Linked DNA regions of Homo sapiens: region 1 is linked to region 2. Evidence: promoter capture Hi-C in 16 types of primary human blood cells and fetal thymus (Javierre and others, 2016). All regions are on one chromosome and are shown on one strand. The core of a region is centred on a gene start or on the middle of the fragment in contact, and the rest is flanking DNA. Distances in the headings are between cores, read along the strand shown.

Region 1 (3,885 bases), core at 98-2,597, 250 kb after region 2:
GTGTGTTTGGTAACAGCTCTATTGAGATATAATTCACACACCATACAATTCACCCATTTAAAGTATGCAATTCAATGGCTTTTAGTGTATCAGAGAGTTGTTCAATAATTACCACAATATACTTTAGAATATTTTCATTTTCATCATCCTAAGAATCCCTACACACTTTATGTCCCATCCTCTAATTCCTCTATCCCCCTAGCTCTAAGCAACCACCAGTCTATTTTCTGTCTCTTAGATGTGTGTTTTAAATGCCTTATTTGCCAGAAAATAAGATTTTGGGGAAAAAAAGCAAGAAGTTGTACCTTCCAATGATAAGTATAAGGTATAGTGTAGATTGCTGTCATGAAATGCTCTACATGGCACATGTATGTTTTCTGACCTACACATTTTTACCAAGTGGGCTGTAATTTTGTTGAAATGACTTGAAAACTCTACAGGTGACTGACCCTTGTTGTTTGGGAAAGTGGTAGGTGCAGGGTGATGGGGGGTGGGTGTGGGGGCTGACCTGGGCTGGAAGGATGGGTCTGGGGATATGATATGATGGGAGGGGGTATGGAAGCAGCTCTGAGGGGAAAGCAGCACAGATCAAGTGTGTGGACAGGGAAGAGCTGACATCCTGAGTTCCATGGCAACCAGATTTGCCAAGGTCTTAGAGTGTGTCCAGAGTGGAGCCTGACCACAGACCTCAGCTCAAGGGACCCAGAGCCCCTCTGAGTCAGCTGTACTGAATTACAGCCCCAAATCTGGGTCAACTGGGGAGAGACGACGAGGATTAGGGTTCCAAGGTGAAACTGTGCCATTGCGCTCCAGCCTGGGCAACAAGAATGAAACTCTCTTAAAATAAAATAAAATAAAATAAAATAAAATAAAATAAAATAGCCTAAGGATGCATTTCTCAGAACTTATCCCTGTTGTTCAATGATGTGTGTCTATACAGTGGGGCCATAACTAAGACGTATGTTGCCCAAGCTGGCAAGATAGCTCTGACCTTCTCTTGGGCCCCTCATTTCCCCCAAACACAGGTTGTCTGCAGTCTTGACCAATGGCTGCCAGGGCATGGACTCCGCTGCAGGGGCCAGTGGGAGGCCCCAGCTCAGGCAAAAGCACAGGCAGATATTTCAGGAGTCTGCTAGGGCTGGCACTGAGGGCAGAGACAGAGGGGTCTCCCTGTCCTTTGGAGAACCTCACGCTGCAGAAATTCCAGACTGAACCTTCATACCGAGTAGGGGAGGAGCTGTCTGCGGGTTTGAGCCTGCAGCAGGAGGAAGGACGTGAACATTTTATCAGCTTCTGGTATGGCCTTGAGCTGGTAGTTATAATCTTGGCCCTGGTGGCCCAGGGCTACAGTCATCCTAGCAGTCCCCGCTGAAGTGGAGCAGGTACAGTCACAGCTGTGGGGACAGCATGCTGGCCAAGGGTCTTCCCCCACGCTCAGTCCTGGTCAAAGGCTGCCAGACCTTTCTGAGTGCCCCCAGGGAGGGGCTGGGGCGTCTCAGGGTGCCCACTGGCGAGGGAGCTGGCATCTCCACCCGCAGTCCTCGCCCCTTCAATGAGATCCCCTCTCCTGGTGACAATGGCTGGCTAAACCTGTACCATTTCTGGAGGGAGACGGGCACACACAAAGTCCACCTTCACCATGTCCAGAATTTCCAGAAGTATGGCCCGATTTACAGGTAAGCCTGGCAGAGGGTGGGAGCCGAAGGGACAGGGAGGAGGAGGGGCCTGGGTAGCCCTGCTGTAGTCCCCACTCCCCCAACAGGCTGTTCTCTGGTTCCAAACTCCTGTCTAACTTCTTTTTTTTTTTTTTTTTTGGTAATACAATACAGAAATATATCAGGGATATTTCAAAATTCAACATTTGAATCTGTGAATGTCTTAAGTACTCTAAACCAGACATCTACTTTTGAAACAATTGGTGGCAAGACCGCCAGCCATCTGTAAGGAAGCTCTTTAATGGGTCCAAACCCCAGGTCTGGCCAGGCATGGTGGCTCACACCCATAATCCCAGCACTTTGGGAGGCCGAGGTGGGCGGATCACTTGAGATCAAGAGTTCGAGACCATCCTGGCCAACATGATGAAACCCCGTCTCTACTAAAAATACAAAAATTAGCTGGGTGTGGTGGCAGGCGCCTGTAATCCCAGCTACTCGGGAGGCTGAAGCAGGAGAATGGCTTGAACCGGAGAGGCAGAGGTTGCAGTGAGCCGAGATCGCACCATTGCAATCCAGCCTGGGCGACAGAGTGAGATTCTGTCTCAAACAAAACAAAACAACCTCCTCGGTCTGAGGAGGGGAGACTGGTGAGGCTAAGTTTTGAATTCCTGGCCCTGTAGCTGTCAGCCCAGCCAGCGAGTTTTAAAAATTGGGAGAAGGCCGGGTGCGGTGGCTCACGCTTGTAATCCCAGCACTTTGGGAGGCTGAGGCAGGCGGATCACTTGAGGACAGGAGTTCGAGATCAACCCGGCCAACATGGTGAAACCCTGTCTCTACTACAAAAATAAATAAATAAATAAATAAATAAATAAATAAAATAAAAAAAATTAGCCGGGCATGGTGGCGGGGGTCTATAATCCCAGCTACTCGGGAGGCTGAGGCAGGACACTCGCCCGAACCCAGGAGGTGGAGGTTGCAGTGAGCCGAGATCATGTCACTGCACTCCCGCCCTGGGCAACAAAAGCGAAACTCTGTCTCAAAAAAAAAAAAAAAAAAAAAATCGGGGGAGGGAGATTTGAAGGTCAGAGCACAGAGTGAAAAGGTCGCAGCGTGGTCAAGTTTGGCGCTAGCGACAGACCCAGCATTCCTCCCAGCGCACGCCGCCGCCCGGGCCGCGCTATTCCGAAATTGGGTCCGCCCTAGCGTGGCCCCCGGCCTGCTCCTGCGCTCTTCGCGGGTCGCTCACCTCCGCCTCCCCTCGACACAGCCCGAGCCCATCCGCCCCCCGGGTCGACCCGCGTTTACCTCAGGGCGAGGTCCAGGCGCTCGGCCCCGCGGAGGCGGCGGCGGCCCCACCGCAGGTCCTAGGTCCCAGTCACTCTGCCGCCAAGTTCCCCAACACGGACTCCGTGCGCTTTGAGGTGTTACGGGGGCGCTGGAGCACTGGCTTCGCTGGCCCTGCCAGGAGGCGGCGGCGAAGCAGGGAGCGACCCGGTATGCGTTTCTCTGCCCGGCCTGCGGCCCTGCAGCATCCACTCCTCGCCTCTGCTGGCCTCTGCCCTCGCTCGCTGCGTTCACCCGAGCTCACCCGAGCCCACCGGAGCCGACAGTGGCGCGCTAAGGTGACGTCCGCGCGGCCGGACCTCTCCTGTCCAACTTCTGATCTTCTTCCAGGCCTGGGATGGTGGTGGGTAAAAGGGAAAGTATTCCTAGTTCCCAGGCCTGAGGCCTCAACCTTCCCCAGATCCCACTCCCTTTGAAACTCTCGGAGAGAGGTGGTTAGAGAACAAGCCCTACTAAATGCCTCCCTACATCCGTTACCCTCCGCACACCTTGCAAGCGAAGTTTGTTGTCCCCATGGTCAGAGGAGGAGACTGAGGCTCAGAGAGGTCACCCAGCTAGATTCCTGTCCTGCTGGGGTGCTGGATCTCACCCCTTGGCCCTGAGGCTCTGAGTCTGTCCCTTCCCTTTCCCAAGAATCGGGCTTGCTTCCTGCTAGGAGGAAAGGCCTTTTTTTTTTTTTTTTGTCTTTGGGCCTCTGTGCCTCCAGGGCTTGTGGCTTTTTCCTGGGAAAACTGCTAAAGCTGTTCCCACGGTGGGCAGCCTTTCAGCCACACCTGGGTTCTTTGCTAAGAGTCCGGTTGAGAGGGAACGGAGGTGGCGCAGGGGTGGTTGGGGGCTGGGAGGGGAGACCAGGAGGGACAGTACGTTTTCCTTTAAGTGAAAGGTC
Region 2 (3,433 bases), core at 296-2,795:
GGTAACACTTCAGGGCTGTGTTAAATGCCTTACAGACATTTTATAAGTCCCTTCCAAGGAAACTGGGAGGCAAGAGCTCTGGCAGAAAACTAAACTAAATCCTAGTGCTGTCACATACCAGCCTCATGACCTTAGACAAGTCACTCTAGGCCTTGGTTAGCATGCCTGGAAAATGGAGATAACATCTCTCAGCCTGGCAAAAGAGATGACAAGCATGAGAGTTATAAGGTACCACACACAAAGCAATAACAGAGAAGAGTATCCTTCCTTTAACACATTCTAGGCAAGTAAAATATTGGAAATAGCAGATATCATCCTCCCAGCCAGGGCTCTAGGGCCCATTTCTCAATTATCTCTGATTCTCGAAAACCTCAGCAAACAGCTTGTTTAAAAAGCAGCTAAAGGCCACAATTATGCTTTGGGAAGCTCTGCTCTGCACAATGAGGAAAAAGGTGATATGAAGAAAACCAAGCCAAGGATGTCAACTTTGAGCACAGGCCTTGTCGGCTTCTCATTTGCTGTTCCTGGCCAGAGAACTGGGCTGACTAGAAGTGCAGCCAGCCAGGTCAGCGGCTGCCCTCCCGGATTCCAGCCACCCCAGCACCCATGGTTATTTTTGGCTGGACTGCCCTACCACTGCAACCTCAAACCTGCCACCTCGCAAGCCTCCACCACCAACGGTGAAACGCTCCTCCTTTTCAAGGGCATCAAGAAGGGAAGCTGGAAGGCCGCCAACTCCGCCTCTGATGGGGGCCTGGTTCAGGCAATTTCCACCCCAGCTCCACATCAGGGCACCCACACCCGGAACTAAAGCTAGAGACTCCCGGGCGGGACGGAGGAGCAGCCAGGGGATTTGAACTGTCAGCTTGGCCTAGCCCATCCTCCGGGCTGGAGTGGCTCTACCACCACAACAAAACACACAGGGGAGCCTGCGCCCTCGTTCGCGTCCCTTCCTGCCGCCCCAGGTCCCAGGGGGTCTCAGAGTCCCATCCCCTGTAACCGCCACCAGTGGCGCCGAGGGGAGACCCGGGGACAGAGGGAAAGCCGGACTGGGCCAGAATCAAACTCCAGGCCGCCAAGGGAGGAGTCATCTGCGGACTAAGCCTGAAGCCAGGGGTAGGGGAGGGGTCTGAAGGGCTTCTCTGGCTCTTCTACGTCGGACCCCGACCCCATTCCGCGGGCAGGCACAGAGCCCAAACTGGACCCTTGAGCGGCCCCAGAGGCCGTTCAGGCTCCGCCTTCAACACCGTGGGGTCGAGGTCAGGGTCTGCAGTGACCGCCCTCCGGGGCAGAAGCAGCGGGTCAGGGGTGAGAGGTCGCGGCCCGATATGGGCCGAAGAGGAGAAAGAAAGGGAGTAGGCCGAGACCGAATGGCACCAGCGCGCCTGCCCCGCCGACTCACCCCCGGCCGCCGCCGCCGCTGTCGCCGCCGCGGACCCCAGCCCACACTTACCGTCTCCCAGGCTCCGGCTGCAGCTAGGCCCCACTCCCCGCTCCGAGCGCCTCTTCCGCTTCCGGCTGCGACCTCCGCCCGTGGCAGCCCCGCCCCCTCGCGTGACGCAGCCGTCGCCAGCCTCGGCTCGACCCGGCTCGGAGGCCTGGCCGCTCTAGCCCCCGACTCGAAGGCTCCGGGGCACCAGCCCTCTCCGCTCCGGCGGGCGCCGCGGCCTAGGAGACTAGTTCCGGGAGGGCCGAGGGGACGAGCCTGGCCCGGCCCGCCTCCCGCCGTGTCGCGGCGCACGTAGGTCCCCCGACCTGACAGGTGCGCGGCCCGGGCCGGCTGGGCTCTCAGAGCCGAGAGGTGGGGCCCCGACCTGGCCGTGGGGCTGGGCCCGCTCCGTCGCCCCGACCCCGCGTGGTCCGCCAACTCCCTCCTGCGCGCGGAGAGGACGGGCATTGTTCTCGGGGCCCCGGAGAGCGCGAGAGCGGCCTGAGGTCTGTGTGCCGGAGCTCGGGAAGGCGGACGCGACTCCGCTTGCGCGAAACGAGCGAACGACACATTATTATCTTGGTGTGTGCGGGTTTTTTGAAAGCCGTGGTGGCGCTCCCAGCTCGCCAGTGCGTGCGGGGCAGTTTCTGGGAAGATACCCTAGAGCTACTCTGGCGGGGCCGGAGTCTGGAGGGAGGAGATCCCCTCTCCTTGAGCCCCCTCCTGTGGAGCGGCTTCCTGCCGGCCTGCGTGGCCTCTCAGTTAAGACTCCCCCGCTAGACAAAAGCCCCGCCGGCTGCGTCTCTGGGCCACTGGACAGCCCCCTTTTGCAGAGGCCTCGAGCGTGGGGTCACCAAAATCCCTGACACCTACTGTCCCGCGCCGGGTCGGACAGGATTACGAGGCCCCACTTTCCAGATGAGAAAACTGAGGTGGGGATCTTTTGAGACCTCACTGTGAGCGTGCGCGTCCCGCCCGGTCTGGGAGTGGCGTCCCCGGCCTCGCGAGCGTCGCGCAGTGAAGCGACAGGGCGTGGCGCCTAATTGTCCCCACGCCACGCGAGGGCTAGAAACCCGCAGTCGGGGCGGACCATCCCTCCAGGCACCGCCCCCTCCTTGGGACCGCTCCGCGGGGGCGCCAAGGGTTTCCCCAGCACCGCCCCGGCGGCCGCCAGCCAGCCGCGGCCCCGCCCATGCCCCTCCCCGCGGGTCTGGGCCCGCCCCTGAAGCGGGGAGGTGTCGCAGGGGAGCCCCCCGCTTCCGAGCTGCGGCTGCGCATCAAGTCCTTCGCCAGCGGCTCTCCCTGAAACGGGGGGTTTCAAGGCGTGATTTGTAGGGGTGTTTAGTATCCCCTAAATCTCTGCCAGCTCCACCATGGCTATCCGAAGTAAACAACAGAAGCTAATTCAAAACTGGGTCCCCTTCCAAAAAATTACAAAAATTAGCCGGACTGGGTGGCGCATGCCTGTAGTTCCAGCTCCTTGCAGGGGACTGAGGCAGGAGGATCGCTTGATCCCAGGAGGTTGAGATTGCAGTGAGCTATGATCACACCACTGCACTCCAGCCTGGTCGACAGAAGGAGACCCTGTCTCAAAAAATAAACAAAAAATCGGCCAAGCGCGGTGGTTCACCCCTCTAATCCCAGTACTTTGGGAGGCTGAGGTGGATGATCACCTGAGGTCAGGAATTCGAGACCAGTCTGGCCAACATGGCGAAACCCCGTCTCTACTAAAAATACAAAAATTAGCTAGACGTGGTGGCACGCGCCTGTAGTCCCAGATGCTCGGGAGGCTGAGGTGGGAGAATCACTTAAACCCGGGAGGCAGAGATTGCAGTGAGCCGAGATCGCGCCACTTCACTGCAGCCTGCGCAAGAGAGCAAAACTCCGTCTCAAAAAAGAAAGTTAGGAGCCGCTTCAGTGTACAGTGGGTGACCCAGATTGGCTGCTGAGGTCCTGCCCCCTAAGGTCCTATCTCAAAAGCTGAAGATTTTGAAAAATCCCAGG

The links. Contacts are between HindIII fragments. The CHiCAGO score rates a contact against its expected background, and 5 or more counts as called.
Region 1: a contact is called between the fragment with the promoter of CYP11A1 here and a fragment that was not itself captured in region 2, in 6 of 17 cell types (endothelial precursors, M1 macrophages, M0 macrophages and 3 more). The highest score is 8.0, in endothelial precursors.

The regions. Positions count from the first base shown.
Region 1 is chr15:74,365,108-74,368,992 of GRCh38, reverse strand. It overlaps CYP11A1 (cytochrome P450 family 11 subfamily A member 1), which reads left to right and starts at 1,347. Exons shown (of 9, transcript NM_000781.3): 1 at 1,347-1,676. The coding sequence starts at 1,408. It overlaps LOC124903524 (a long non-coding RNA gene), which reads right to left and starts at 3,531. Exons shown (of 2, transcript XR_007064709.1): 1 at 3,488-3,531; 2 at 1-3,331. RefSeq lists an enhancer at 1,191-1,215, a promoter at 1-1,397 and a silencer at 2,805-2,964. The HindIII fragment of the contact is 5,873 bases long and covers 1-3,885 here.
Region 2 is chr15:74,613,919-74,617,351 of GRCh38, reverse strand. CLK3-AS1 (CLK3 antisense RNA 1) reads left to right here and starts at 1,560. Exons shown (of 9, transcript XR_007064715.1): 1 at 1,560-3,433. CLK3 (CDC like kinase 3) reads right to left here and starts at 1,516. Exons shown (of 13, transcript NM_001130028.2): 1 at 1,454-1,516. RefSeq lists enhancers at 151-761, 762-1,373 and silencers at 1,462-2,001, 2,422-2,741. The HindIII fragment of the contact is 4,168 bases long and covers 1-3,433 here.